Linked DNA regions of Homo sapiens: region 2 is linked to region 1. The links are contacts of gene promoters, found by promoter capture Hi-C in blood cells and fetal thymus (Javierre and others, 2016). All regions are on one chromosome and are shown on one strand. Each heading gives the region's core, a stretch centred on a gene start or on the middle of the fragment in contact. The rest is flanking DNA. Distances are from core to core; before and after follow the strand shown. Region 1 holds the start of TAF10 (TATA-box binding protein associated factor 10). Region 2 overlaps NUP98 (nucleoporin 98 and 96 precursor).

The links. The method cuts DNA at HindIII sites, captures the fragments that hold promoters and counts their contacts. A CHiCAGO score of 5 or more calls a contact.
Region 2: a contact is called between a fragment that was not itself captured here and the fragment with the promoter of TAF10 in region 1, in 1 of 17 cell types (neutrophils). The highest score is 5.9, in neutrophils.

Annotation. Positions count from the first base shown.
Region 1 is chr11:6,610,763-6,613,499 of GRCh38, reverse strand. TAF10 (TATA-box binding protein associated factor 10) reads left to right here and starts at 1,284. Exons shown (of 5, transcript NM_006284.4): 1 at 1,284-1,542; 2 at 1,682-1,836; 3 at 2,048-2,112; 4 at 2,197-2,311; 5 at 2,489-2,737. The coding sequence starts at 1,311. The coding sequence ends at 2,578. It overlaps TPP1 (tripeptidyl peptidase 1), which reads left to right. Exons shown (of 13, transcript NM_000391.4): 13 at 1-732. It overlaps ILK (integrin linked kinase), which reads right to left. Exons shown (of 13, transcript NM_004517.4): 13 at 2,630-2,737. RefSeq lists enhancers at 808-857, 908-1,037, 1,493-2,080, 2,081-2,669 and silencers at 1,328-1,427, 1,438-1,637. The HindIII fragment of the contact is 6,165 bases long and covers 393-2,737 here.
Region 2 is chr11:3,792,566-3,795,406 of GRCh38, reverse strand. The region is part of intron 1 of NUP98 (nucleoporin 98 and 96 precursor); the gene reads left to right. Among named protein-coding and RNA genes, the nearest start is that of NUP98, 3.6 kb to the left of the region's middle. The HindIII fragment of the contact is 3,504 bases long and covers 1-2,841 here.

The DNA.
Region 1 (2,737 bases), core at 35-2,534:
CAAATCCCATCAGGCCACTTGGATGAAAACCCTTCAAGGATTACTGGATAGAATTCAGGCTTTCCCCTCCAGCCCCCAATCATAGCTCACAAACCTTCCTTGCTATTTGTTCTTAAGTAAAAAATCATTTTTCCTCCTCCCTCCCCAAACCCCAAGGAACTCTCACTCTTGCTCAAGCTGTTCCGTCCCCTTACCACCCCTGATACAACTGCCAGGTTAATTTCCAGAATTCTTGCAAGACTCAGTTCAGAAGTCACCTTCTTTCGTGAATGTTTTGATTCCCTGAGGCTACTTTATTTTGGTATGGCTGAAAAATCCTAGATTTTCTAAACAAAACCTGTTTGAATCTTGGTTCTGATATGGACTAGGAGAGAGACTGGGTCAAGTAAGCTTATCTCCCTGAGGCTGTTTCCTCGTCTGTTAAGTGTGAATATCAATACCTGCCTTTCATAATCACCAGGGAATAAAGTGGAATAATGTTGATAACAGTGCTTGGCACCTGGAAGTAGGTGGCAGATGTTAACGCCCTTCCTCCCTTGCACTGCGCCCCCTGTGCCTACCTCTAGCATTGTAACGACCACGTAGTATTGAAATGGCCAGTTTACTTGTCTGCCTTCCTTTCCAAGACCGTTGGTGCCTAGAGGACTAGAATCGTGTCCTATTTAACTTTGTGTTCCCAGGTCCTAGCTCAGGAGTTGGCAAATAAGAATTAAATGTCTGCTACACCGAAAACCTCACGCCTCTCATTCGTTGTGATTTTTGCATATGTTGTTGACTCAGGCTGAAACTCCTCCTCCTCCTACAGCAGCACTGTGTGCCGCCCCACTGCTGCCCCCACCTCTCGGGGCAGCTGGCGGAGAAGAGAGGGGGCTTTCCAAATCCACTATGAATCCTTAAAAGGCTGAATAAGGGAACTTGAAACGATGCAGACAGGCAGGCAACCCGTAGTCGAGGGACATAGGGCCATAAACGTCGAAGCCAGGTCTTGAGCGTCAGACAGAATGAGGTGTCCCAGAGCGGCGGAGGAGAGCCAGACGCACGCTGGTTCCGGTCTGGACGGAATCGCCGCGGAGCACGGCAGAGGCTAGGGCGGAATGGCTACGGCAGCGCAGTTCGCCAAGGCTCGGTCTCCGCCCTGCAGCCTATTTCCTCTAACCCGCAGATCCACTATGGGAGGAGGCGGGGAGCGGGCTGGAGAGCACTAACAGAGACAGGCGGGGCGAGTCGTGGGCGCGTGACGTCACCCCGGGGTGTGCGCGGCGCGAGCGGAAGCGGAAGCGGCTCTGTTCGCCGCCTCTCCCACCGGCCCGATGAGCTGCAGCGGCTCCGGCGCGGACCCCGAGGCGGCGCCGGCCTCCGCCGCCTCGGCCCCGGGCCCCGCGCCCCCGGTCTCGGCTCCCGCCGCGCTGCCCTCCAGCACCGCCGCGGAGAACAAGGCCAGCCCCGCGGGGACAGCGGGGGGACCTGGGGCTGGAGCAGCTGCTGGGGGCACGGGACCCTTGGCGGCGCGGGCCGGGGAGCCAGCTGAGCGGCGTGGGGCGGGTGAGGGCCGGGACGGGTGAGGGCGAGGGAAGCGTCTTGGGCTGGGTCCAGCGGCGGGTGAGGGCAGAGGGTATAGACAGACCTAGCTGGGGCCCTGCGCCTCCCACCTCTGTGTCTCATTTTGCTGGTTCTCCTCCAGCTCCGGTGTCGGCGGGTGGCGCGGCGCCCCCGGAGGGGGCCATATCTAACGGGGTTTACGTACTGCCGAGCGCGGCCAACGGAGACGTGAAGCCCGTGGTGTCCAGCACGCCTTTGGTGGACTTCTTGATGCAGCTGGAAGATTACACGCCTACGGTGGGCTTCCGCCCGAACAAGGCCACCTAGCCTGCTGTCAAAACTTTCAGCCACATCGTGCTTTTCAGCGTTCTCTTCCATTTGCTCCCCTAGTCGCTCTTCTGTGTTTGCCCTCTGCTCACCCAAACTGTGAGCTTCCTGATAATCAGGCCTATCCATTTCCCTCACCCTCCTCCCGCTCTGCTGACAGTTCTCTTAATTGATTTCTCAGATCCCAGATGCAGTGACTGGTTACTACCTGAACCGTGCTGGCTTTGAGGCCTCAGACCCACGCATGTGAGTAAACCCAGGGCAGGTTAGTTTTGGGTGCTTGTGCAGTATGTTGTCCATCTCCTTCTCATCTAAGTTTTTTCTCTCTAGAATTCGGCTCATCTCCTTAGCTGCCCAGAAATTCATCTCAGATATTGCCAATGATGCCCTACAGCACTGCAAAATGAAGGGCACGGCCTCCGGCAGCTCCCGGAGCAAGAGCAAGGTGTGAGGGGAGGCTTAATGAATCAGTAATTACCTTCCACAACAGTGGAGGCTTATCCTGCCACCCCTTTGGGGAAACTGAATCGTAGGGGAGGTGTAAGACTTACTCAGGGTCACCCATCTGGGATTGAAGTCCGGGATTCCTGTGCTCAGTTGGTGCTCTTCCCTCTTCCCTCAGGACCGCAAGTACACTCTAACCATGGAGGACTTGACCCCTGCCCTCAGCGAGTATGGCATCAATGTGAAGAAGCCGCACTACTTCACCTGAGCCACCCAACCTAAATGTACTTATCTGTCCCCATGTCCCCACACCAGCCTGTTTTCATAATAAACTTTATTGTGACAGGCGGGGCTGATCCCTCCCATGTTGGGAGACACCATGTGGCAAGTGACAAAGCTCTGAGCCCGCCCCTCTTGGGGCCACAGT
Region 2 (2,841 bases), core at 170-2,669, 2.8 Mb after region 1:
TGGCGCAATCTCGGTTCACAGTAGCCTCTACCTCCTGGGCTCAAGCAATCTTCCCACCTCAGCCTCCCAAGTAGCTGAGACCACAGGTGTGCACCACCATACCCAGCTAATATTTTTTTGTATATTTTGGGTAGAGACAGGGTTTCGCTATGTTGCCCAGGCTGGTATCGAATTCCTGGGCTCAAGCCATCCCCCACCTCGGCCTCCCAAAGTGCTGGGATTACAGGTATGAGCCACTGTGCCCAGCCAGTACCTGACTTTATGTCTACTAGGTCCTAGATAACTAAGAGCAAGTAGAATTTTTAAGGAACTAAATTTACGGCTTTGAAAAAATTATATTATTTTCTTGTAATATGATTTATGTGGTGGTAGTTAACCTGGAAAGTAAAGAATGATGGTACTAATGTTTAATTTCCAATAATGAGACTATGCAGTTATGTAATTTGTTGAAAGGTTAGGGAACTAAGAAACTCAGAGATTTAAGGATAAGTATTGGCTGAGCATGGTGACTGACTACTGTAATCCCAGCACTTCAAAGGTCAAGGCAGGTGGATTTCCTGAGCCCAGAAGTTCAAGACTAGCCTGGGCAACATGGGGAAACCCTGTCTCTACGAAAAATACAAAAATTAGGCAGGTATGGTGGCATGCACCTGTACTCCAGCTACTTAGGAGGCTGAAATCAAAGAAACATCAGAGCCTGGAAGATTGAGACTGCAGTGCTGTGATTGCACCACTGCTTTCCAGCCTGGGAAACTGCGTGAGGCCCTGTCTTAAAACAAAGGCGTGGTGTGGTGGTTCACGCCTGTAATCCTAGCACTTTGGGAGGCCGAGGCGGGTGGATTGCCTGAGCTCAGGAGTTTGAGACCAGCCTGGGCAACATGGTGAAACCCCATCTGTACTTAAAAAAAAATATGAAAAATTAGCTGGGCGTGGCAGCATGCGCCCATTGCCCCAGCTACTCGGGAGGCTGAGGGAGGAGAATTGCTTGAACTCGGGAGGCGGAGGTTGCAGTGAGCCAAGATTGTGCCACTGCACTCCAGCCTGGGCGACAGCGAGACTCTGACTCAAGAAAAAAAGAAAAGAAACAAAACAAAACAGTATGTATTAGAGGCAAGGTAGGTAAACATTTCCTGAGAACTTGGTGCATTCTTTTTGTTTGAAATTGACCGTAAGTATTTGGCACAGTATGGCTCTAGAGAAAGGTTTCTCAGCTTTGGAACTTTGAGACTTTGGGCCAGATAATTATCGTGGGGGCTCTGTTGTATATTGTAGGATATTTAGCAACATTCCTACCTCTACCCATTAGATACCCATAACACATCCTCTGCAGGTTGTAACGATCAGGAATGTCTGAAGAAATTGTCAGAATTGCCCTTGATTGAGACTACTACTTTAGTGAAAATATTTCACATGTATTTATTTATTTATTTATTTTTTGAGACAGAGTTTCGCTCTTGTTGCCCCGGCTGGAGTGCAATGATGTGATCTTGGCTCACCGCAACCTCCGCCTCGTGGGTTCAAGCAATTCTCTTGCCTCAGCCTCCCGAGTAGCTGGATTACAGGTGCGTGCCACCACACCCAGCTAATTTTGTATTTTTAGTAGAGACAGGCTTTCACCATGTTGGCCAGGCTGATCTGGAACTCGTGACCTCAAGCAATCCACCCGCTTTGGCCTCCCAAAGTGCTGGGATTACAGGCGTGAGCCACCATGCCCAGCCATAATTACCACATTGAGGAATTTGTACTTAATTCAGTGTAATGGGAAATACTTGCAGTTTTTTTTAGTAAGGAAAGAAAAATTCTTAAAAATATAGTGGTAGCTGGCCGGGTGTGGTGGCTCACACCTGTAATCCAGCACTTTGGGAGGCTGAAGCGGGTGGATCACAAGGTTAGGAGTTTGAGACCATCCTGGCTAATATGGTGAAACCCTGAATCTACTAAAAATAGAAAAATTAGTTGGGCACAGTGACACGCACCTGTAGTCCCAGCTACTGGGAGGCTGAGGCAGAGAATCGCTTGAACCCAGGAGGCAGAGGTTGCAGTGAGCGCAGATTGCACCACTGTGCTTCATCCTGGGTGACAGAGCAAGACTCCATATCATAAAAAGAAGACCTCTAAATGTACCAGTCTTTGCATTCTGACATATATTATGTTGTTTTGTTTGAAGTATGTGAAGAAAATCTAGCCTCATACAGATACATAGTTGGAAAAGAGAGGAGTATTTTAATGGCCTTTTCAGATAATTCTAACTGCTCTTTGACACTACAGTCAAACCTTTTTATTTGTTTGTTTTTTTGAGACGGAGTCGTGCTCTGTCGCCCAAGTCGGAGTGCAGTGGCGCTATCTCAGCGTACTCCAACCTCCGCCTCCCAGGTTCAAGCAATTCTCCTGCCTCAGCCTCCTGAGTTGCTGGGACTACAGGTGCACATCACCACGCTGGGCTAATTTTTTGTATTTTTAGTAGAGACGGGGTTTCGCCATGTTGGGTTTGAACTCCTGGCCTCAAGTGATCCGCCTGCCTTGGCCTCCCAAAGTGCTGGGATTTCAGACGTGAGCCACCGTGCCCGGCCTCAAACCTTTTTAAAGGTTCATTACAGTATGGAATCTGAAACTGTGTCATTGAACTTTTGTATTCTGTTGTATTAAAAACCATTGGTCTGTGTTGTACTTTGAATAGACCTTTACACTTCTGTGATTTTATAACATGATGCATGTTGATTTTGAAATTATTGATTTACTGAGTTATGCAGATCTTCTTTTTTTGTTGTTTTTTTGTTTGTTTGTTTCTTTGTTTTTGAGACAGAGTCTTGCTTTGTCACCCAGGCTGGAGTGTTGTGGCAC